Regions from separate parts of the Homo sapiens genome. Here all the other regions are linked to region 4. Evidence: promoter capture Hi-C in 16 types of primary human blood cells and fetal thymus (Javierre and others, 2016). All regions are on one chromosome and are shown on one strand. The core of a region is centred on a gene start or on the middle of the fragment in contact, and the rest is flanking DNA. Distances in the headings are between cores, read along the strand shown.

What was found. Contacts are between HindIII fragments. The CHiCAGO score rates a contact against its expected background, and 5 or more counts as called.
Region 1: a contact is called between a fragment that was not itself captured here and the fragment with the promoter of MDM1 in region 4, in 6 of 17 cell types (megakaryocytes, M1 macrophages, monocytes and 3 more). The highest score is 14.5, in megakaryocytes.
Region 2: a contact is called between a fragment that was not itself captured here and the fragment with the promoter of MDM1 in region 4, in 14 of 17 cell types (megakaryocytes, M1 macrophages, M2 macrophages and 11 more). The highest score is 18.7, in megakaryocytes.
Region 3: a fragment that was not itself captured here is called in contact with the fragment with the promoter of MDM1 in region 4 in 7 of 17 cell types (megakaryocytes, neutrophils, monocytes and 4 more); the score reaches 12.5 in megakaryocytes.
Region 5: a contact is called between a fragment that was not itself captured here and the fragment with the promoter of MDM1 in region 4, in 1 of 17 cell types (megakaryocytes). The highest score is 7.3, in megakaryocytes.
Region 6: a contact is called between a fragment that was not itself captured here and the fragment with the promoter of MDM1 in region 4, in 2 of 17 cell types (activated CD4 T cells and naive CD8 T cells). The highest score is 8.0, in activated CD4 T cells.
Region 7: a contact is called between a fragment that was not itself captured here and the fragment with the promoter of MDM1 in region 4, in 1 of 17 cell types (activated CD4 T cells). The highest score is 5.1, in activated CD4 T cells.

Annotation. Positions count from the first base shown.
Region 1 is chr12:68,622,844-68,626,239 of GRCh38, reverse strand. All of the region lies in intron 1 of RAP1B (RAP1B, member of RAS oncogene family), which reads right to left. Among named protein-coding and RNA genes, the nearest start is that of SNORA70G, 2.8 kb to the left of the region's middle. The HindIII fragment of the contact is 2,308 bases long and covers 274-2,581 here.
Region 2 is chr12:68,644,687-68,648,128 of GRCh38, reverse strand. All of the region lies in intron 1 of RAP1B (RAP1B, member of RAS oncogene family), which reads right to left. Among named protein-coding and RNA genes, the nearest start is that of SNORA70G, 19 kb to the right of the region's middle. RefSeq lists a silencer at 314-514. The HindIII fragment of the contact is 5,436 bases long and covers 1-3,442 here.
Region 3 is chr12:68,602,633-68,606,396 of GRCh38, reverse strand. No RefSeq gene overlaps it. Among named protein-coding and RNA genes, the nearest start is that of RAP1B, 6.4 kb to the left of the region's middle. The HindIII fragment of the contact is 4,363 bases long and covers 130-3,764 here.
Region 4 is chr12:68,330,484-68,333,695 of GRCh38, reverse strand. It overlaps MDM1 (Mdm1 nuclear protein), which reads left to right and starts at 1,334. Exons shown (of 15, transcript NM_001354969.2): 1 at 1,334-1,468; 2 at 2,475-2,589. The coding sequence starts at 1,451. It overlaps LOC105369819 (a long non-coding RNA gene), which reads right to left and starts at 1,065. Exons shown (of 3, transcript XR_945057.3): 1 at 1-1,065. RefSeq lists a silencer at 1,134-1,393 and an enhancer at 1,694-1,783. The HindIII fragment of the contact is 10,890 bases long and covers 1-3,212 here.
Region 5 is chr12:68,707,467-68,710,875 of GRCh38, reverse strand. It overlaps NUP107 (nucleoporin 107), which reads right to left. Exons shown (of 28, transcript NM_020401.4): 9 at 1,567-1,638; 10 at 783-871. Among named protein-coding and RNA genes, the nearest start is that of NUP107, 22 kb to the right of the region's middle. The HindIII fragment of the contact is 6,708 bases long and covers 1-3,409 here.
Region 6 is chr12:68,035,784-68,039,502 of GRCh38, reverse strand. It overlaps the pseudogene HNRNPA1P70. Among named protein-coding and RNA genes, the nearest start is that of IFNG-AS1, 48 kb to the right of the region's middle. The HindIII fragment of the contact is 1,749 bases long and covers 561-2,309 here.
Region 7 is chr12:68,006,884-68,010,304 of GRCh38, reverse strand. All of the region lies in intron 3 of IFNG-AS1 (IFNG regulatory antisense RNA 1), which reads right to left. Among named protein-coding and RNA genes, the nearest start is that of IFNG-AS1, 19 kb to the right of the region's middle. The HindIII fragment of the contact is 2,182 bases long and covers 193-2,374 here.

The sequences.
Region 1 (3,396 bases), core at 178-2,677, 290 kb before region 4:
GAACAAAGCATACCCATTTTCATGAATGGAAGAATGCCATAAATATCTTCTCAATATAAATGCTTAAGTGGGGTGGTGCTTTTGCAAACCACCACCCTCCACAAGGATGGGTGAAGCTTTTTTAAAACATGATTTTACAGTCTGTTTCAACACAAGGCCGAATATAGAAATAAACAGAATTAGTGTCTTCCATGAGAGGAGAAACAAATGGCTCAGAAAAATATTTTATTTCATTTTGCTGTTAACCTCATAACCAGGATCAGGTGACAAGCTTAATATGACCACTCCTGAATACACCTGAAACTTTTTTTTTTTTTTTGAGACAGAGTCTCGCTCTATCGCCAGACTGGAGTGCAGCGGCACGATCTTGGCTCACTGCAACATCTGCCTCCTGGATTCAAGCAATTCTCTTGCCTCAGCCTCCCGAGTAGCTAGGACTACAGGTGCGCGCCACCACGCTCGGCTAATTTTTGTATTTTTAGTAGAGACGGGGAGGTTTCACCATGCTGGCCAGGATGGTATCGATCTCTCGACCTCATGATCCACCCGCCTCGGCCTCCCAAAGTGTTGGGATTACAGGCATGAGCCCCACACCCAGCCTCATCTGAAACTTTAAAAAAGAATGCCTTGATTTTAGATTGTGGGTTCGTAATCTGCATGATTATATTATACATTCAAAATGAAACTTAAGGACCAGAATATTCCTAATGGAAAATTCCCCAGTAAACCTGCCAGAAGTTCAGAGGAGAAAAATTAACCAAGTAACAAAACATAGTGGGAGCATAGGTACTTCCTGTAATTTTCTCTAATAATAATTTTAGTATCTCAACCTAAGCATTTATACTACCTGCTTACGCACGCACTGGCTTATGCAGCTAATTGTGTTATAAAGTTGTTTTTGACTAATTTAACAGTTCTTCCTTTTATAATCTACCCTCTTGAGTTTATTCAAAGATCCATTTAATATTCCATAAAATAAAGACCACTCAGAAAAATGAAAGGCACACCACACTTCACTGAAAGACATAAATAATGCTTACATTGGGCTTTCACATATGAATAAACACTTAATTACTTACTTGCATAATTACTAGGCCAGCAAGTACTTAAAGTAGCTCCAAAAAATGCCTATCATGGCAATTCTACAAGTGATAAGACGGTATCCAAAAAACATCACATGCATTATGTGTGCATCGTTGAACATTAGTATATACACCAAACAAATGGATAAAGGCAATGAGAACCAAAGTCTGGGTGGTTAACTAGGCTGTTAGAATAACCAGAGCATCTGAAGAACACATGGAAAGTGGGCAGTCACTTCCTGTAACCAATTCTGAGTTTCTAAGTAGCCTCTTCAGATACTTACTTCAATCCTTGTCACTATCAAATGGTTCCATCGAGGAGCTTTTGTTGTTGTTGTTGTTTGAGACGGAGTCTCACTCTGTCGCCTAGGCTGGAGTGCAGTGGCACGATCTCAGCTCACTGCAAGTTCTGCCTGCCAGGTTCCAGCGATTCTCCTGCTCAGCCTCCCGAGTAGCTGGGACTACAGGAACACACCACCATGCCTGGCTAATTTTCATATTTTTAGTAAAGATGGGGTTTCACCATGTTGGCCAGACTGGTCTCGAACTTCTGGCCTCAAGTGATCCGCCCGCCCTGGCCTCCCAAAGTGCTCTGCCTGCCTTGGCCTCCCAAAGTGCTGGGATTACAGACGTGAGCCACCGTGTCTGGTCTGAGGATTTTTAAATGAGGATTACATTAGTCCTATTTATAATATTCCTATTCTAATCTATTGTATTCTTACAATTAAATGTATCAAATAATTCTTAAAAACATTATTAGGAAACAAACTGCCTAATACCTTATAAGACTAAAAAAATCACCAAGATGAAACTGTAGTTATGAGCTCTCAATATTTAAACATTTAAAAAAATGTTAGTGTTTGTTAGGCACCAATCTTAACTATTTCCAAATTTAACTGGACTCTGCAATTATAGAATGAGGTGATTCTCCCATACCCTAAAGACTCATCACCCTCAGCACTGCATTCCATCCTGAGTCAGGGTCAAACAATTCCTTGGCAAAGAGGGTTTCTAAAGCTAATTGCTTCAAAGTAACATTTTCAGACCCTGGTATCTTCTCCAAACAGTAATGAATAAAGCCTTTTTAACTCATTTGAAACCAATTTCTTCTCTCTCTCTTTTTTTTTTTTTTTCCCTGAGATAGAGTCTCACTCTGTCGCCCAGGCTGGAATGCCATGGCGCAATCTCGGCTCACTGCAACCTCCGCCTCCTGGGTTCAAGCGATTCTCCCGCCTCAGCCTCCTGAGTAGCTGGGACTACTGGCGTGCGCCACCATGCCCGGCTAAGTTTTTGTATTTTTAGTAGAGATGGGTTTCACCGTGTTAGCCAGGATGGTCTCGATCTCCTGACCTCGTGATCCACCCACCTTGGCCTTCCAAAGTGCTGGGATTACAGGCGTGAGCCACTACACCCAGCCTGAAACCGACTTCTTATAGAAATTCTGAAATCCTAAAATCTCTGAAAACTCAAAGTTCTATAACTATGTTGGTGGCAAAGCTTAATCCTAATATATAATGGCAAAACTTCACCTGAGCACTGATGGGAGACTATTTTTATCTTTTATTTCTCTCACTTAATGTGACTATCCATGTTCCACATTAATATTGTGTTTGATTACTCTTACCAAAATCTAAAACAAATCTTTCCTCAAAATTCTGAAATCCAAAAATACCTGGCACCAAAGGTTATATATAGATAAGGGATTATGGCCCTATAATCAATTTTACAAACATCTACCAGGGCAAAACACTCTTGAATTTACTTCAATTTCTGTAGTTCTGTAGTACTGCTCACTGTAATTCACTGTTAATCTAAAACTCCTTTAATATGCAGATTCTACCTTATTTTTACTGTCTTTTCTAACTACTAGATCCTAAGGGTTTCACTTCTTCCTTTGACTCTAATAAGCACTCATTTATATCACTCATTTGGATATTCTGAACTGCTAACAGTTTTATACTGGTTAACTTTTCATGTCTTTGCTAAAAACCTTTTGTGCAAAATTACTCAATTTAATCCTAACATATAGTAACTAAGAACAATTAGCTTTCAATAACATGCAATCAGATCAAATAGTCCTCAAGAGACAGATGACCTAAATAAAAAATGAGGAATTATAGTTGGACATAGATATAAAACTTTAAAAATTAGTTTAAGGCTGGGTGTGGTGGCTCACGCCTGTAAATCCCAGCACTTTGGGAGTCTGAGGCAGGAAGATCCTTGAGCCCAGTAGTTCCAGACTAGCCTGGGCAAGATTATGAGACCAGGCCACTACCAAAAGAGTGAAGAAAAAAACCAGTTTAAGGAGTAGCTT
Region 2 (3,442 bases), core at 883-3,382, 310 kb before region 4:
AACAAAATATATCCAGAAAGAAACAATCCATACCAAGGCTTATCATTATAAAATTTCAGTATATGAACAATAGACAGAAGGTCTTCAAGGATTCCAGGGTGGGGGCATTACATGAGAATAAAAGGCTCCTACATTCCTAGAAAAAAACTAAAGAGTCAGTAAAGTGGTACAAAGGTAGCAACCAGAACAGATTTTAAAACTTCTGATCAAGAAATGACAGTTTTTTGGGTCATGGTTAACAAAGCTACTATAACTGATTTAAATGATTTTAATCAACTAATAACAATTTGCCTCAGAGGATATGCTTCTACAAACTAACCAACTAATGAGGGTTCCTTACTTCTGAAACTCAGGCAATCAAAAATGGCCTGTTAAACAGACACATCCCAAAGCCAACCAATCAACAACTGTCTTCACTTGAGTGACAGTGCTTCTATAGCTAACATTAACCTGCTCCTGTCTTTGAAAGTTTGCCAACCATGGAACTTCCTAATTCCCCAAAATCCTGTAAGACCAGCAGTCTAGCAAGGTTGGGGAAATTAAAAAAAAAAAAAAGGGAAAAAAAGAGCAGTGTATCTGACCAGGATAGCTTAGGTAATCAAGAACTCGGCCAGATGTGGTGGCTCATGTCTGTAATCCCAGCACTTTGGGAGGCTGAGGTGGGTGGATCACTTGAAATCAGGAGCTCAAGACCAGCCTGGCCAACATGGCAAAACCCTTTTTTGGGGGGGGGGGGGGGGGCGGGGAGTGGAGTGGGGGGCAGGGACAGGGCTTCACCATGTTGGCCAGGATGGTCTCGATCTCTTGACCTCATGATCCACCTGCCTCGGCCTCCCAAAGTGCTGGGATTACAGGCGTGAGCCACCACACCCGGCTTCAAAACCCTGTTTCTACAAAAAAAGACAAAAATTAGCTGGGTGTGGTGGTACACGCCTGTAATCACAGCTACTCGCAAAGCCGAGGCATGAGAATCGCTTGAACCTGGGAGGTGGAGGTTGCAGTGAGCTGAGATCACACCACTGGAGTCCAGCCTGGGCAACACAGTGAGATTCTGTCTCAAAAAGATTCAATAGGATACAAAATAAAAATTGATTTAAGGAAATTTTCAAAAGTATTCTGGCAAAGACCCAACAGTTAAAGTAAAGAGATGGCCTTTCTTTTTGTATATGGGTTCAGGTCTGAAATAGGAAACCTAAAATGGAAAATTGGTAATCCGAAAAAATCTACAATGGTTGAGATTTTCAGAGTCTTACAAACAAACTAGAAAAAACTAAATAAAAAGGTCTTTGTTTTCGAAGAAATGCAAGCCCACAGATGAGGCTACTTGTACAAACAGAGCCACAGGAGGAACTGATGTTGCATGTTCACTAACAAATGGAAGTACAATAACCCCAAATCTGTTCATTATTGCTGCTCCAAAGGAAATATGAGCATCCAATTCTCCACCCTTCCTCCACTGGGAGTGAGAGTGGGACTGACTACATATAGTCACAGGAAACCTTTTGGGGGTGATGGAAGTGTTCTAAAAACTAGTTGTAGTGGGCCGGGCGCAGTGGCCCACACCTGTAATCCTAGCACTTTGGGAGGCTGAGGCAGGCGGATCACAAGGTCAGGAGTTCAGCCTGGCCAATATGGTGAAACCCCGTTTCTACTAAAAGTACAAAAATTAGCTGGGCATGGTGGTGGGCACATGTAATCCCAGCTACTCGGGAGGCTAAGGCAGGAGAATCGAGTGAACCCGAGAAGTGGAGGTTGCAGTAAGCTGAGATCGTGCCACTGCACTCCAGCCCCGGTGAGACTGCAACACTCCATCTCAAAAAAAAAAACACACCAAAAACTGGTTGTAGTGATGGCTGCATAACTATATATTCACTAAAACCTCCAAACATAACACAACTGACCGAAACAACATAAAAACTACAATTTTAAAATACTGAATATAAAAACTATACATTTATCAGAGGTGATTTTTCTAAGAGACGTATGCCTTTCTTATTTCACAAAGGTGGCTGAGTTGGCTGTGGGAGCTACACTTCTTAGTGAGGTGACTGGGACTCTTTTTCCCAGCTGCTTCATTTATCCATGAATGAGCATTATTATTTGTTGCTAGAATGAGTCAGGTTCATCCATATTATTGTATCTATCAGTAACTTGCTCCTTTTATTTATTACTGTTGATTAAAATATACCACATGAATACATGATATTTTCTTTACCCATTCACACCAGCTGATTTCCAGTTTGGGGATATTATCAGGGTATTTCTGTTACCTTAAACAGCAAAACAAAACAAAAAAAACCCAACAGTACAATAGTCAAGATTTGAATCAGTATTTTTCAAATCTGTGCTTTCTACTACACCAGCCTTGAAAAGACTGAAAAACAGATTTTTATTGCGAATGCCAACTCTGACTGACTGGCAACAGCCATTATCCTGTTTTTAGGATGGTGTGGTTGCATCTAGTTTTGCAGAAAAGACAACTCTGTTCAATAAGCAACATAATTGGCTTGTGGTGCTGGTAGGGACTGGGAAAGAGCTGTAGCACCTGTTATTTGTATAGCGTATTTGTGATCTTTAGGCATAACCTTTCTGTTCAAGTGTTCTTTTCCTGAAGTCCTTAGCTCAGGTTAAGAATGAGCACTTTGAAATATGTCAATTCCCTAAAATTTCATGCACAATTAAAAATGGGAATAGTTACATCAGATTTTCAAAGACATTTGTGACAACTACTATTTGAGACATTGAGACTAATTGTTCTCTTTCACAGAACCCCATGGGGGGACAATTTTGACAGCACAGCATAGTGGCTAATGGTACCTAAGTTTCAAATTGTGGTTTTCTATAATCTTGGGCAAGTCACGAAACCTTTCAGAGCCTCACTTTCCTTCCAGGTAAAATTAAGATAGTAACAGCTACATGATAAGGTTGTGAGATGGATTACAAAGAATGTAAACTCCATGAGGATAGGGATTTTTTTTGTTTTACTCACTGCCATATTCCCAGAACCTGAAACTGTGCCTGAAATATGTGATCAATAAATTAAAGAAAGAATAAGGAAAGAAATGTAGTAATTCTTCAGAGTCACTGACACAACACCTTGCACATACTCGTCAACAAAAGATAAATTTCAGGCCAGGCGTGGTGGCTCACGCCTGTAATCCCAGCACTTTGGGAGGCCGAGGCGGTTGGATCACTGGACCAGCTGGACCAGGCTGGTCAGAAGTTCAAGACCAGCCTGGCCAACATGGCAAAGCCTCTACTAAAAATACAAAATTAGCCGGGTGTGGTGGCACATGCCTGTAATCCTACTTACTCGGAAGGCTGAGGCAGGAGAACTGCTTGAACCCAGGAGGTGGAGGTTGCAGTGAGCCCAGATCGCACCACTGCACTCCAGCCTGGGCGACACAGCAAGACTCCATCTCAAAAAAAAAAAAAAAAAAAA
Region 3 (3,764 bases), core at 1,062-3,561, 270 kb before region 4:
CAGTCTGGTCTCGAACTCCTGGCCTCAAGTGATCCGCCCGCCTCAGCCTCCCAAAGTGCTGGGAGTACAGGAGTGAGCCACCGCGCCTGGCCATCTTGATGTTTTAAATAATTTTTTAAATAAGAAGCTTGAATTTCCATTTTGTACTGGGTCCCATAAATTATGTAACTGGTCCTGCCTATACTAGAAGATAAAATCCAGATCAGAATGTGTATGTGTGTATGTATATTTCCTACAAGATCAGGATTTCCCTCCTCTCCTCTCCTCCCTTCCCCTCCCCTGCCCTCCCCCCCCCCCCCGCCGCCGTCTCCCCTCTCCTCTCCTCTCCTTTCCTCTCCTTTCCTCTTTTTTTGAGACAGAGTCTCACTGTTGCCCAGGCTGGAGTGCAGTGGCGTGATCATGGCTCACTGCAGCCTCCAACTCCCAGGCTCAATCAGTCTTCTGCCTCAGCCTCCCAAGTAGCTGGGACTACAGGCAAGTGCCACCACACTCGGCTAATGTTTCTATTTTTTGTAGAGACAGGGGTCTCACCATATTGCTTAGGCTGCTCTTAAACTCCTGGGTTCAAGTGATCCTCCCACCTTAGATGCCCAAAATGCTGGGATTACAGGTGTGAGCCACTGTGCTGATCATATTTCTTATCTTTATAAGAAACACAGTTTGGTGCTTTCCACATAATAGGCATTTAAGATATATTTGCTGAGTTTTCTTTTCCTAAGGTAGTGTGAAATGGCAGAGGGGGTGAGAATCAGAGTCCAGCTCTTATTATACTTATTAGCCTAGTGGTCTTGGAAAAATCCCATTATCATGTTGAATCTCAGTTTCCTCATCTATAACATGGGATGATAATATCTGCCTTACAGAACTGTTGTAAAATAGTGTGTAGAAAATAGCAATGTCTCAGTCTCTGGAACAAGAAGCAGCTCAAAGCAAGTTTTTCCCCTTTTAAAGAAAGTGAATTAATAGTGTCCTTAACTATTTAACCTGATAACAGTATTTCTAATTTTTCATATTATTTACTTCCTTAAAAGTTTTACTTTTTTTTTTTTTTGAGACAGAGTTTCACTCTTTCCCAGGCTGGAGTGCAGTGGCACAATCTTGGTTCACTGCAACCTCCGCCTCCCCGGGTTTAAGTGATTCTCCTGCCTCAGCCTCCCAAGTAGCTGGGATTACAAGCGTGCGCCACTACGCCTGGCTAATTTTTGTATTTTTGGTAGAGACAGGGTTTCACCATATTGGCCAGGCTGGTCTCAAACTCCTGACCTCAGGTGATCCGCCCACCTCAGCCTCCAGCCTCCCAAACTGTTGGGATTACAGGCATGAGCCACCGTGCCTGGCCAAAAGTTTTACTTTAAAGGAATAACATCTATGCTTCATTGGTTTCACTTTAAAAAGTCCATATGAGTAGCGGTCTTATTGCAAATCCAAAATTGGATTTTTAAAAGACCCAGATTTATAATTTTCCTAATTGACAGTTAATGATTATCAATGTAAACATTTAACTTCCAGTTTATCATGGTTATCAGTAACATTAATGTTCCTTAACATTAAACATTAGTATATTATTTCATTCACAAATTAACAATATTGAATTTGATCCTTTCACTTCCTTACTGGCTTTTCCCTCTGATGTGTGTGTGTGTGTATGCATGTATTATATAAATCTATGTATGTATATATAGTGTATGGTATATAAATACAGTTCTGTACCTTTGCAACACCCTGTGTGACTGGGTTGGGAAGTTGTAAAGAATAAGAAGACTGCTTATTAGATGCAAAAGAGAAAAAATACATGGCTTACATCTCTAGTTATTAGTTTGTAGACAGCTGCTTTAAAAAAAAAGAAAGCAAGAAAAAGAAAAAAATTACATCTTCAGTAGTTTCCTTCTATTTTCTTGGTCAAAGACTGCATTCCAAACTCAATGCAGTTATTTTATAAATTCTACCACTTAATCACACAGGAGACCAGGTAAGAGCATATTAGACCATTGCTATTATGAGAAAACACTCAGAACTCATACTCTCCTAGGGTAGTTTGTGTTCCTCTAAGATTTCTGTTTTGGGGAAACCATGCACTTATATATAAGAAAAATGAAGCAGCTTGGCATGTTTCTATTCTGTGTAATAACTGTAATAACTGCTTATTTGTCTCAAGATATATTTCAAATTCTGTCTATACTCAGTTTCAGCAGTTGTGGGCTTGACCACCAAACCTGCCTACACCACATTAAATAAATCTAACAGCCCTCTAATTTTGTCATTGCTAAGGTCTGTGATGTAAGGAACAGATTATACTTAAAATTTCCCCATCTCAAGTCTTAGCTGAGAAAAACCGTAAAAATGAAAATGGCATTACCAGAGCCATCATGTAAATGAGTGTTAAAAGCACAAAACTATTGGAAAAACCAACTTCATAAAATATACCCTATTATGAAATTTTCAAAAGAAATTTTAAATTAAGAAAATCTTCAAAAACCACATATACTTTCAGAATCTGGGCTGTCCCCAAATCAAACAGCTAATATGCCCAATATGCGCGAGTCAAGCATTTCTTGGGACTTTATTATTAGGATAGTATTTAGCTTCTGGTTCCAGTTATGGCCAAGTCCTGTGTATGAGTCACGTATCTCAGTAATAGTTATCAAATTCCAAGAGGTAGGTTTTAAAGACCCATTATAAAGATGAGAAAATTTCTTCTATTTTGTATTTATCTAAATCTTAGTCATTCTTCAAGACCCAGTGGTCCCTTCCTTCTCTGAATTTTCCAAATAATTGTTGTTTGTACCACTCCATTTGGTACTTATCATACATTGCCTTACTTAAGTTGCTTTTGTCTTCTTTCCATTCTGAGATCCTCAAAAACCGAAACTGTATCTTAAACTTCTTTGTACCTACTATACTGCCAGGCATTACAGATTAGAATCAAATGTAGGGGGAGGTCTTTCTAATCTTGGTTAGAGTCTCCAAATTAATCATAGTGGATTTACCTCTGGCAGTTATTTAGCCTTTGAAAGTTTCTCTTTATTAATCTTTATTCTTTTTTAAATTTCAAGACAGGGTGTTGCTCTGTCGGCCAGGAGTGCAGTGGCATGATCACAGCTAACTGCAGCCTCAAACTCCTCGGCTCAAGAAATCCTCCCACTTTAGCCTCCTGAGTAGCTGGACTACAGGCAGGCACTACTGTGCCCCACTAAATGTTTAAATTTTTTTTGTGGAGACAGGGGTCTCTCTATACTGCCCAGCCTGGTTTCAAACTCCTGGGCTTCAGTGATCCTCCTGCCTTGGCCTCCCAATATGTTGGGATTCGAGGCGTGAGCCACTATGCCTGGCCTTTTTATTAGTCTTTAAAATGCTCATAACAATGTTTATAATTTAGGCCTTTTAAAAGGATTTAAAATAGGTCACATGTCAAAATGGAAGTAATATAGAGTAGTGGTTAAGCGGACCAGCTCTGATGCCATACTCCACATGTCGAAATACAGGCTCTACTCATCCTGAGGAATTTACTTCGGGTACTTCAGTTTTCTCATTTGTAAAATGAGTACAATAATATAACCTATGTCATGGGTTATTGTGAGAATTAAATGAGTTCACAGTACAAATAGAATAGTGCTTACCACAGAGTAAGCACTCTATTAACTACTGGCTATCATCATCTAACGGATTATCAATATATGTTGCTTTCTGCTACTTCCTCTGGCACAATAATGCTTTGTGCAAACATAGTAAGAATTCAACAAATGTTTATTAAACTTTCACATTGC
Region 4 (3,212 bases), core at 85-2,584:
TGGGACTAATTTAATATGCTCTTTGTTCCAGATATCAGGTGGCTTCTTCAAATGATTTTTAAGTATCTCGATGATGATGAAGAACAAAGACATCAATCAGGATTCAGGAAGACAGCTTTTGCGGAAAATGCTTAAAGGGAAGCATCAAGGATTGGTGTTGATATTTGAAAGTTTAAGAGTGGTATACTTTTATTCAGTCAACACATGACAAATGTAAAAGGCACTCATTTGTTGTTCCTGGAAGAAGCCTGGCAGCATTCCATTCAGACATCTGCCCTTTCATCGTCCCACTTTTTACTTATTGCAGTCCTTTCAGTCTGAATATTTCCTCCTGACGCATCTTCTGCCGTCCGAAATGACTCCCTGCTCCCAGATCCTGTAGCCCTTATTATTGACACCTTTCATTTAGAAATTTAGCACATGTCACATTACACCATTATTGAATAAATAATGAATAAATAAATAAATAAAGATGTATGTCCTTCCCAAGTATATCAGAGAACTATCTGGACAATTTCTTTCTTTCCCAATTCTCAGAATCAGCAGTATTCTGTCAAGAAACATTTATCGACGATGATGGCAATAGTCGATTAAAATCAGATGAAGTTTTATTTTTAAAAAAAGGTTGAGCGGAGAGACAAGGCTGAAGGTTTGGAAGTTGAGACAACCATCTTCAATAAACGTTTTCTCATCTAAGGGCTGTATGTACATCATTTTGGGGAAGGTAGAGATTGAAGGAGGAAGAACATCACTGGAGGAAGAGACAGCAGTTTGTCTTTCGAGTTTCAATAAAGTTTCAAAAATCTTGCCTAAGTTATATATTTTTTTGGCCTTTCCCTTTTGATGTGACAATAAACTGTAATGCGGCTGTCGTTTGTACGAACCGATATTCAGCAGAATAAATCTGAGCACTTTCAGAAAAAGAAGCGTTCGGTTTTCTCATAGATGTTAGCATGAAGAACACACTTTGACCTTTGATGCTGTCAAGCACCTGGGCCAGCGAGGCTGGCGGCTGGCGAATTCCACCAGCAAGCAGACGCATTGCTGCGCAGGACCCGGCGAACCAGGGACCGGTCCACCCAACCCAGGAAGGCACCCCCGGGGTCCCGCCCAGCCCGGTTCCGGGAGCCTTATTGGCCGGCCTTCCGCCCGCCATCTCTATCAGCCCCAGGGATTTGGCAAGGGAGGTAGGCGGCTCCCTTTCGGCCACTCATTGGTCAAATCCTAATGGAGGTAAGGCACTCTGCGAGTCTCTATTGGTCCCTAGGCTCCAAAAAGGGCGGGGAAAAACAGACCGACAGGCCTCTAGGCGGGAAGCGCGGAGTGCGCCGGCGCGTAGTCGGGGACGCCGGGCCGAGGCTTTGCTAGGGAACACTGTTATCGCCCCGCCCCCTCGGAGCTTTTTCTCCAGTTAACTGTCGGAGTAGCGGGGGCTCCGGCGCCGGGCGACATGCCGGTGCGCTTCAAGGTGAGGCTGGGGTCCCCGGGCCGGAATGTGGCTGGGGGGAGCCATGGCCGGGGAGGTGTGGAGCGCCGAGGTCACGCTGCTTTTCTGCGCTGCAGCCCTCTGCCCGGCGGAAGCTGCCAGCCCCAGGGCCTGCTCGAGGGGCCCCAGAATCTGCCCGCCGCCTCTTAACCTAGTTCCCTCTCCGCTCACTCACATTTGCAAGCTGCAGTGTGTCGAAGAGTCAGATGGTGCGAGACACATTTACTTAGGGGGACTCAAGAGGAGTGGAGATGGGAGGAGGTCCCTTTGCGAAGAGAACTAAAGGCGACTTCAGATTGGGACACCTGTGGCCCATTTAGCTTAGCATTTAACCCCCATTACCTTTAAAACTTTAGTGTATGTGGCTTTTAAAGGCTTGAGAAATGGGTTCTTAGTAAAGACAGCGTATAAAGAAATACACGTTTTTCATCGTTGTGCATTCTTAGCGTATGTTAAAAGTTCCAGGTAGCTGGTAGCTGTCAGGGACTAGCACCCTGCAACTTCACAGGTGGCCACAGCGTCCCACATCTCCTGACTCATTTATCTTAAAGGCGTGTATTCAGAATGGAAGGGGAGTTTGCCTTTTGTTGACTTTATCAAATAGCAAAAGGTCCTAGGCATGGTACATAATATTGTGTACTCGGTGAAAACCTGCGATAAATCTAGAATGATGAGAATTTAGATTGTCATTAGTTATCCGACAAGAACTCATGCTTTGGAATCAGATAATCAGTGAAAGGGTAACCTCTGAGCCTGGAATTCCTGGTAGCATCTGCCTCAAGTGGTGTTGTGGATTAAAGGATATAACACGTGTGAACTGCTTAGCACAGGGCTGGGTGAATATTAGCTCTTATTAAGGAGCTCGTCTGTGTTTAATTTTCAGTCTTAAGTCTCTTTTGGGAGGTTCAGAAATTATTTTTCACCGATGTCTGCTTTAAAACATCATTCATTAATTGGACTGTACTCAAAAGTGTACTTTGCATTACAGGGGCTGAGTGAATACCAGAGGAACTTCCTGTGGAAAAAGTCTTATTTGTCCGAGTCTTGTAATTCCTCCGTGGGGCGAAAGTACCCATGGGCTGGACTTAGATCAGATCAATTAGGTAAGTTGAGCAGGCTAATAGCCATTCTAACCTGGGCTAAGTTTATAACTTGGGCCAAGCCGTTATAACTTGGGCTAAGTAAACCTTGGGCTAAGTTTACCAAATGATATATTAAAAGTTCAGTTGGCCTGGTTGATTTATTCATTTATTAATCAAGTATTTATTGAAGGTTTACTATGAGCCAGGACTATTCCCAGCAGCTAGTGTGGCAGGCCAGGTTTCACTAATGGAGGCCTCCATCACAACTGTTTCGGTACTGACTGAGCGGTTAAGTTAAATATTGAAAGCTAAAAAAAGCCAGTGCCCTTACACAAAGGCTGGGATGTCACAAAAGCCCATCAAGAGTATTGCCTAGGCCTTTCCTGGGCCATAAAGCATGACAAAATAAGGAATTCTTAACAGGATCCGTTTAGGATTAAACAAGTTTTACTGGGGGTCTGAAGAAACTCCCCAGGCCTCCACAAATTTATTGGCGGTCTGAAGGAACTCCTCAAACCTCCATGATTCAGCAGGAGACAAGATAAGGGTAATCAGCCCAGCACCTAGACCCATTTAGATTAAGTAAATTTACTGATGCTCCAGAAGAAGGTCTTCAGGACTCAGACCTTAGTTATAGATTAAAA
Region 5 (3,409 bases), core at 33-2,532, 380 kb before region 4:
GGTGCTCAGATCCTTTACATAAAATATTGTATTATTTGTATATAACCTACACATGTTCTCCCATATACTTTATATCATCTCGATTACTTAGAATACCTAATACAACGTAAATGTTATGCAAATAACTATTATACTATATTTTTAAATTTGTATTACTTTTTTTATCTTGTTATTTTTATTGTTTTATTCCAATTATTTCTTTTCTGTTTTTTTTTTTTTTTTTTAAGACGGCCTGCTCTGTCGCCCAGGCTGGAGTGCAATGGCATGAACTCGGCTCACTGCAACCTCCACCTCCTGGATTTCAGCGATTCTCCTGCCTCAGCCTCCCAAGTAGCTGGGATTACAGGTGTGCGTCACCAAACCCGGCTAATTTTTGTATTTTTAGCAGAGACAGGGTTTTACCATGTTGGTCAGGCTGGTCTGGAACTCCTGACCTCGTGATCCCCCACCTTGGCCTCCCAAAGTGCTGGGATTACAGGCGTGAGCCATCACACCCGGCTTGTTTTATTCCAATTATTTCTGATCTGCAGTTTGTTCAATCCATGGATGCGAAACCCACAAACTCAGAGGGCCAACTGTATATTTGCAAATCAGCTATCTAACTCTCTTAAACAATTATAAATTCCATAAAGGCAAAGCCTTTATTTGTTTTGCTCACACACCAAACAAAGTAGTGTGAACAAAGTAGTGTGAACAAAGTAAAAACTGAATAATACTTATTGAAAGATGAATGAACAATATCAACATTGAGTGACCTTAAGAATTAAAGTTTGGTAACTTACCAATATACTGATTTTGCATAAAACTCAATATTATCAGAAAATTCTCCAATTTCATCTTTGGCAATACTCTCTAACCAATCTACCACCAGCTAAGAAAGAAAGAAAAAAATAAATTAGTGTTAACTACCAAATCTATTTGTGTTTTATTTGTAGTGGTACTACTACCCTTAATTCAAACAGTTTCAGATTTTTTATTTTTTTTTTTGAGAAAGAGTCTCACTCTGTCGTGCAGGCTGGAGTGCAGTGGCATAATCTCGGCTCACTGCAAGCTCTGCCTCCTGGGTTCACGTCATTCTCCTGCCTCAGCCTCCCAAGTAGCTGGGACTACAGGCGCCCACCACCACACCCAGCTAATTTTTTTTTTATTTTTAGTAGAGACGGGGTTTCACTGTTAGCCAGATGGTCTCGATCTCCTGACCTCGAGATCTGCCTGCCCTGGCCTCCCAAAGTGCTGGGATTACAGGCGTGAAGTTTCTGATTTTAAAAATATCAAGTAACAATTTTTCCAAACACTATTTTTACTTTAAGATAAATAAATATTATGGCAAAAGAATAAAATTTTCTATAGGAATAATCGTTTTTAACAGGCTATTCCTGAAAATACTAGGGCTATTACTTAAAAATCAAAGAATAAGGTTTCTAATTCCTTTTAATTGCAAATAAAAAGATCAAGTAGAAAAAAAATTCAGAAAACAGTTTTAAGTTAAAAAACACTTCAGTACTTTGCATGTCATTAACCTTTTCTCCATGTTTCATAAAAAAAAATTTTAAATTCTAGTCATACCTGACTTTGTCGAACAAGTGAATCCCTCTGAAATAACGCTTCCACAACTGTTTTTTCACTGGCATTAACAGCCTATTATGAAAAATATTAAAAGGATAAACAGAATGAAAAGAAGATGCTGTTAAGAAATATTATTTTAATAGAAAGATAAAAAGCCAGTATGAAACAAGTACAGTTAATCATCTATACATAAACATTTTACCACATAGTAAATCTGTATATTCATCATTGAAAGGTATCTATTGTGTAAATTCCAAACTGCTACATCAATTGTAGCTGCTCTTACCTGGTATATTGATTCTTTACACTTGAAATTTAAAATTCCATTTTCCCAGAGATGGTGTTTTGGGGAAAAATAAACACAAAATAAAACAAACAAAAAACTTTAATAGGCCAGGCATGGTGGCTCACACCTGTAATCCCAGCACTTTGGGAGGCCGAGGCAGGCAGATCACTTGAGGTCAGGAGTTCGAGACCAGTCTGGCCAAAATGGTGAATCCACATCTCTACTAAAAATACAAAAATTAGCTGGGCGTGGTGACGCAAGCCTGTAATCCCAGCTACTCGGAGGCTAAGGCACGAGAATCACTTGAACCCACGAGGCAGAGGTTGCAGTGAGCTGAGATCACGCCACTGCACTCCAGCCTGGGTGACAGAGTGAGACTCCATCCCAAAATAAAAAAAAAAAAACTGTAATACAGGGCTGAATACAGCCCTGTTACATGTTAGAAACTAAACATTTAAAAACGTTAAAATCCTTTATAGTCTATATAGAAGTTGATAAGTAATAAAAGCTAAGAGCAATCCAAGGCTCTTACAACTGACTTTAAAAGACAATTTAATACAAATATTAGCAAGTAATACTAAGCAGTATATTAAAAGGATAATATATTGTGACCAGTTCAAGAATGGGTCAAATTAATTAATTAATCCATTTTATCCATGGGTTAAAGGAGAAAAGCTACATGGACTTCTTGACAGGTACCAGAATATTTCATAAAAATATCTTCATAAATTTTACCTTGCCATTTTGATGTAAAAAATATATATATCCTCATAAGTTAGACTAACTGAAACCTCTAGCAAACATATAGTCGTCCCTTGGTATCCATGGGGGATTGGCTCCAGGACCCCTCGTGGATACCAAAATCTGTGGATGTTCAAGGCCCTTATATAAAATGTTGTAGTATATTTTATTTAATTATTTATTTATTTTTTGAGACAGAGTCTTACTCTGTCATCCAGGCTGGAGTGCAGTGGGCCTGATCTCAGCTCATTGCAACCTCTGCCTCCTGGGCTCAAGTGATTCTCATGCCTCAGCCTCCCAAGAAGAAGGGAGGTGCCTGCCACCACACCTGGGTAATTTTTGTATTTTTAGTAGAGACGGGTTTCACCATGTTGGCCAGGCTGATTTCAAATTCCTGGCCTCAAGCAGTCTACCTGCCTCGGCCTCCCAAAGTGCTGGGATCGCAGGCATGAGCCACCTCATCCAGCCAAAATGCTGTAGTATATTTTAAATCATCTCTATTGGACCTGGCTGTGATAAAAAAATAATGAACAACAACAACAACAAAATCATCTCTAGATTATGTATAATATCTAATATAATGTAAATGCTACATATGTAAATAGTTGTTATATTATATCACTTAGGGAATAAAGATTAAAAACATGTGCACATATTCAGTACAAACCCAATGATCTTTTATTTGAGACAGGGTCTCGCTCTGTCACCCAGGCTGGAGTGCAGTAGCACAATTACAGCTCACTACATTCTTGACCTCCTGGGCACAAGCGATCCTCCCATCTCAGCCTCACATGTAGATGGGACTAGGCATGCACC
Region 6 (3,719 bases), core at 186-2,685, 290 kb after region 4:
GGTCTCGATCTCCTGACCTCGTGATCTGCCCGCCTCGGCCTTCCAAAGTGCTGGGATTACAGGCAGGAGCCACCGCGCCCAGACAACACAATCTTAAACAGAAGCTTTATATGTAAACCACATAAAAGCTGCGCAAGTTGAATAGGAGGCAATAAATGAGGGAGGTGTGTGCTTGGGCCTCTAGAAAGACATAGGAAGCATATTTGAGAAATCTCTAGGGCTTGGCTTCAAAAACATTATTGTAAAGCATGTGTGCATCTAAGGTAACGGCGCTATAACTTGTAATAAAGATGGGAAGGAGAGAAGCTGCCAATCCCAAACTGATGGTCAATATTTGTGGATTCCAACATTCCCAGTTCCTTTATTTATTTCTGGACTATCTAGTTTTCTATGGCTCATCAAATAAAAATCAATATGCCCATATTTACACAAAGCCACCTTCATGCCCTCTTCCAGGAGGAACCAGAGAACTTGAGACTTCCCAGCTACAATTTCCAACCTTGCTCTTCTGGGTTTTCCATTCCATGTTGAGCACTCAGAGATTTTACTAGGTTTAAGCTTTCTTGCCTGGTGGGTGGGAGTAGGGAGGGGGGTGGAAATGAGGTGACCATTTATTGAGTATTTGCTCTGAGGCAGTGGTGGTGGGGTCGGGGGTTCCTTCCTGCTTATCAGAGCTGTGCACCTGCTCACTTGCCAGATGATATGCAAAAAAGAATCCAAAGAAGCAGCAAGAAAGCCAATACGTTTTCTTAGATCAAAATGACATATCCCAAAGCTCCTCTCTTTCCGATTATTTTTGATGAGAGCAAAATTATTATACTCAACTCCAGTGTGAATCTACATCACAGGGGGAGATTATTTTAGGTGAAAATTCCCTTATGATTAAATAGATGTTTGTGTGCTTATTTTTGTTGTTTTAAGAATCCTCCAGGATAATTCTGATGCAAACAGGCCTAAAGCCAGAAAGACTGACATACAGGTTTATTTGATAAATTGAAGTTTATTAAATACTATGACCATTATTTTCTGCATTAACCTTATAATATTGGTCACTTGTCTTCCTTTCAAGTTTAAAAACATTTTTTTAAACAGGCTTGAAACCTGCGGGGAAAACATATTATTGTGACATATCACATATCACAACATATCACATTGGCCCTGAGGATTAAACTGTTTCCAGATCCATCTGGTCTGACAGACATAAGTGATTGATTCTTGCTTGGTCTGTAACACACCCCAAATGCATTCACCTGCTATGCCATTGCCCCCTCTTCATTTTCTACTATGAGCTTTAAAAAACTGGAGTTATACATCTCATGGCTCTTAAACTAATGCATGGCTTGTTCCTGACTGCCTTCCAGCACTGGAAGAAAAAAGTAATATCTTTGTGACAGCATGATTACTTCCACCTGTGACAGCTCTTCTCCATTGTGAAATCTGCAAAGAAATCATCTGGAAGGGGAAAATACATGTGTTCTGGGATTAAAGACATAACAGGCATGTACTGAATGTGTCAAAAAATTTGAGATGTTGAGGGAGCTGAAGACAAGCCCTCTACATTGTAGATGTAGTACCATAAGGAATTTTCTAAAGAAGTCTTATGAAGCAATTGTTTTCAGTGGTTTACTACATTTATGAATCTTCAGCCCATCAGTGGAAAATATGATGCTCTGAGAGTCAGCCATGAAGCTGGGCTAGAGTGGGGTGCTAGTTTATCTTGAAAGATAGTTCTTTCAAGATGTATAATGCCCTGTTTCTCCCAGCTATTACATTTCACTTCATTTCTCTAGACCACAGGGTTCTAAGACACTTAGTCTAATTTAGAGGCAGTCTTTTGTTAAGACACCACTGAAGCATATAAAGTTCAGCCAGTGGGACCCAATTGGGTAGCTTTATAGAGAGAAGTCCAGATTTAGTTATCAATGTTAATAGGTAGGTCTTTTCATTAATGTCAGCCAACCAATGTACTACAACACATCATATTGTTTTTTAAAGGACACATCTAATTAGCATCATGATCAGACTATTACATTGAGCAGTCAACAGCATGGGTGCAAAGAAAAATTGACATTAAAACCCTTTATAGGCATGGTTTACACTTTCTACAGAACAGAAACTAAAATAAACTGTTGTACAATTGGTCACAACTACAGTCCTTGAGATTTTTGCCCATACACATGAATATTGTCAAAAACATGTCTTCTTTGTAGCAGCTAGGTCCTACCACGACTGTGCTTGGCTGAGTTAAAAAATCTGTTGTAACCTGTAGTTTCCTTGTCATGTTTCCAGCTGTCCTCTCCTGCTAAGCTTTGTCTCGTGACAGTAATTAAAATCTGGCTGGGCACAGTGGCTCATGCCTATAATCCTAGCACTTTGGGAGGCCAAGGCGGGTGGATCACGAGGTCAGGAGTTTGAGATCAGTCTGGCCAACATAGTGAAACCCCATCCCTACTAAAAATACAAAAAATTAGCTGGGTGTGGTGGTGGGCACCAGCTACTAGGGAGGCTGAGGCAGGAGAATTGTGTGAACCCAGGAGGCAGAGGTTGCAGTGAGCCGAGATCACGCCATTGCACTCCAGCCCGGGGGCAACAGTGCGAGACTCCGTCTCCAAACAACAACGACAAAAAAAAAAAAAAACAAAAACAAAAAACAGTAGCTACTGCTGTAGCTACTGTTGCTACTGGAACCACCATAGCCACCTTGGTTTCGTGGTTTGGCAAAGTATTGGCCTCCACCACCATAGGGGTCAGAGCTTCTGCCTTCAAAGTTTCCTGCCTTCATGGGTTCAAAATCTGAAGACTGATTGTTGTACTTGCCAAAATCATTGTATCTTCTACCACTTCTGCAATTGCTTCCACTACCACTGCCAAAGCCCCTTCTGCTTCCGTCGTTATAGCTGTCACAGAAGCCACTGCCCTTGTTTCTACAACCCTCTCCACCACTTCCATAGCCTTGGCTTTCTTCAGAGTAACCAGGGCCACCTCCTCCATAACCAGTGTCATTACCAAATCCATTATAGTCATCCTCACTGCCACCATATCCACTACTATCACAGCTGCCGCCAAAGCCACCATGACCACTGAAGTTTTCTCCATGACCAAAGTTGTCTATCCCACCAAAACTGCCTCCATGACCACCACCAAAGTTTCCAGAACAATTTTGGCTTCTTTGCCTGGATGAAGCACTAGCCACCTCTTGCTTTGACAGGGCTTTCCTAACTTCACAGTTGTGGCCATTCCCAATGTGGTATTTCTGAATGACAGTCTTATCCACGAAGTCATGGCCATCAAAGGTGACAAAAGCAAAGCGCTTTTTCTTGCCACTGCCTTGGTCAGTCATGGTTTCAATCACTTCAATTTTCCCATGCTGTTCAAAATAATCTCTTTGGTGATGTTCTTCAGTGTCTTCTTTAATGCCGCCAACAAATATCTTTTTCACGGCTAAGTGGGCACTTGGTCTCTGAGAATCTTCTCCTGAGATAGCTCTTTGGTTGTACAACTCTTCCATCCCCTTGTGTGGCCATGCATGCATCTGCCTCCTCCACAGTGGCATTTGTGACAATCCCAAAAGCTCTGGAGCACTTGGTGTTTGGATCTCATTGCTACACAGTTTGTGAGCATTTCCCCATTACTCAAAATGGCTCCTCAGGCTCTCAGCGGTTGTTTCAAAGCTCAACCCTCCAATGAGGAGCTTCCACAACCATTTAGGCTCTTTAGGA
Region 7 (3,421 bases), core at 34-2,533, 320 kb after region 4:
TACATTACTCAGCTTTGAAAAATGCTGAACAAAGGTCATCTCTACTTCAAATAGATAACTTCACTGATTGGACAGTGCCTTAATAGTGGTCCAGACTTCAGAACCACTCTGTAAATTAATCCTTTCAATGATACAGCATCAAGCTTATCAATGATGGTTTCACTTGCTTCAAATGATTAGCACCATAAAGCTTAGGTCCTATTCCAGAAGTGTTCATGGAGTCCCTTGGGTGTAGTGGTAAACATTCATATGTGGCAAAAGTTAAATCTAAAAATATCTGAAACACTCTGAATTAAAATCATCAGATTATTGTAAATATCAGCTTGAGATATCAACTATCAACACTTTCAATTTCTTAATTTTGGAAGTTGCTTTTATTTTATTTTTAAAACTCATCAATTATTCTTTCAGTGGGCTTCAAATATTTTAATACTGCAGCACTGAATTCTTAGCTCTGACCACAGTGAGTACTGCTTCCCTGGTGTATCTCTACACACTGGATGAGATGATGATAAAGCCTAGGGATTGGGGAGCCACCAGATGGAAAAAGACAAGATCTCGGAATGACTGCATGGAGGAGAGCTGCCCAGTTGCCCAGGAACTTTTATGAGAGCAAGAAACCAACTTCTGGTGTGTTAAAATTCTACCTTTAAAAACTGTTCCAGGCCAGGCACAATGACTCACGCCTATAATGCCAGCACTTTGGGAGACTGAGGTGGGTGGATCACGAGGCCAAGAGATCGAGACCACCCTGGCTAACACAGTGAAATCCCGTCTCTACTAAAAATACAAAAAATTAGCTGGGCGTGGTGGCGGGCGCCTGTAGTCCCAGCTACTCAGGAGGCTGAGGCAGGAGAATTGCTTGAACTGGGATGCAGAAGTTGCAGTGAGCCAAGATTGTGTCACTGCACTCCAGCCTGGGCAACAGAGCGAGACTGTCTCAAAAAACAAAACAAAACAAAAACAAAAAACTGTTCCAATGTAATAATTCAGCTGGGACAAAATATATATTCTGATACTGATGCATCTGAGTTCTTATCTCAAATAGCAGAACACCTTGATTCCTAGACAATACAGTTTAAGTAAAATATGTGTTACTATTAAGTGCCAGTTATGGTTCTAATTATTTTAAACATATTGTCTTATTTCAGTCTCACAAGAACCTTACAATGTAGGATGTTTTTAATCTTTACTTAAAAGATGAATAACTGAAGAAACCAAGGCACAAGGAGGGGAGATATTTTGCCTAAGATCACATAGCTGTCAAATGGCCAAGTTTGGAATTTAGATTATTTGGACTCAAAAGTTGTATTTTCAACTGTGAACTTTCAATCATGCACCAGTTGTACATAAAATCACATGGAGTGCTTGTAGCAGACACTCATCCTGTTCACTGAAATCTACTGCCTCTTCTTATTGGAACACCAGCTGGATGGTATTTCCCTTCCTCCCTTGTAGGTAGCTGTCACCCTGTGACTGAGATCTCCTTAACAGAATGAGAGGAAAAAAGAAAATTCATGCTACTTTCAGTCTGGTCCATTACAAGTTCCCATAGTGCTCCTCCATGCTGTTTCCCCTTCTACTTGGTGGATGCGGATGACTATGAAACCCTAGCATATGGGAGAGCCACTGATGGAAATAGTCTGGGTCACTGAATGACTGCATGTGGAGAAGCCTCCTACCAACCTCACCATGAGCCATCCTACGAACAAGAAATTAATTTCTATTGTGCTAATCTACTGACACCTTGGAATTTGATTCTTTCTAAAACTTACCTTAACTAATAAAGAGCTTTTTAAAAATTCAGTTTCCTGCTGTGAACTCCAGAACTCCTAGATTAGAATCTCTGGGATAAAGACTATGTATCTCTACATATTTTTTTTTTTTTTGAGATGGTGTCTCGTGCTGTCGCCCAGGCTGGAGTGCAGTGGCGTGGTCTTGGCTCACTGCAACCTCTGCCTCCTGGGTTCACGCCATTCTCCTGCCTCAGCCTCCCGAGTAGCTGGGACTACAGGCGCCCACCACCATGCCTGGTTAATTTTTTGCATTTTTAGTGGAGATGGGGTTTCACCGTGTTAGCCAGGATGGTCTCGATCTCCTGACCTCATGATCCGCCTGCCTCGGCCTCTCAAAGTGCTGGGATTACAGGCATGAGCCACTGCGCCTGGCTGTATCTCTAATTTTTAAAAGATCCCCCTTGCAATTCTGAGGTAGCTAGTCTTTAGCAGTATTGAACTTCATATCACAATTGACTTTTTCCTTTTCCTAGCTAAATTCTAGTTGGATATCTTAAGACAATGGTTTTCCATTTTTAGTTTGCCTGATTTTTTAAAGAAGCTATAGCTCAACAATTTATATTGCTTCAGAAGAAGCTTCACTTATTTATTTAAGATTCCATTTGACCCAGGGGATTCAAGATGTATCATCTCATCGTGAGGGCACCAAGTCATCTATTTCCTTCTTTCTTCCATCTCTCCCTTCCTCTGTCTTTCTCTATCTCTGCCTCCTATTCTTCTGTCTTTCTATCTATCTGTCATGGCTAAGTAGCCTTCCCAAAAGTATTTTCCTTCTATTTTATTGTGTAAATATAGAGGTTTTGCATTGTGCAATTCCTTGAAAATAACATGTGGCAATTACAACATGAGATTTCATCAGCTGTTCATGTATTATAGTGATTACTTTGAAACTGTGACTGATATTTGAATCTTAGGGGAGAGAGGGCATTAAGAAACTCTCAGGAATGATTAGGTCTCCACCAGCTATTTTTTCAGTTTAAAATTGAGATTGTATTTCTTGCATCATTTCATCCATTATTTATTTTTTCTGACTAAAATAGATTATTGAAACTCAACACAGTGATAAATTTGATCTCTTCAAATGCCTTGAGTGTTTATATTAGGATGACATTCTTAATTGTCAAGGGGGTATATGAAGAAAGTCTTTGATATATCTAGCTCCACTGACAATTAGTAGAGCTGCATCATATAAGGATAGTTAATGATTCATAGAGTGCTTACTGTGTGCCAGTTGCCCTTCTAGGGACTTTGCATAACTGAAGTCCTTTAATTCTCAAAATAATCCTATGAATGGAGTCCTGTGTTTATCTTCGTTTCATAATGTGGAAATGGAGGCATGGAAGCACAGGGGAACATGCCCAAGGTCACACAACAAGGAGGGGTGGTGTTGGGACATGAACCCATGTAGTCTGGCTTTAGGCTCTGTGCCTTTACTACACACACTGACTGTTTTTATAGATAAGCACTCTTCCATGTGATTTTAAAAAATCATTCTAAGGGTATATTCCTTTTCTATTGCTTTGTAACAAGTTATCACTATTTTAGAATCTTGAAACAACATGCTTTTATTATTTCACAGTTTCCATGGGTCAGGAGTCTAGGCTTGGCCTAACTGGGTCCTCAGG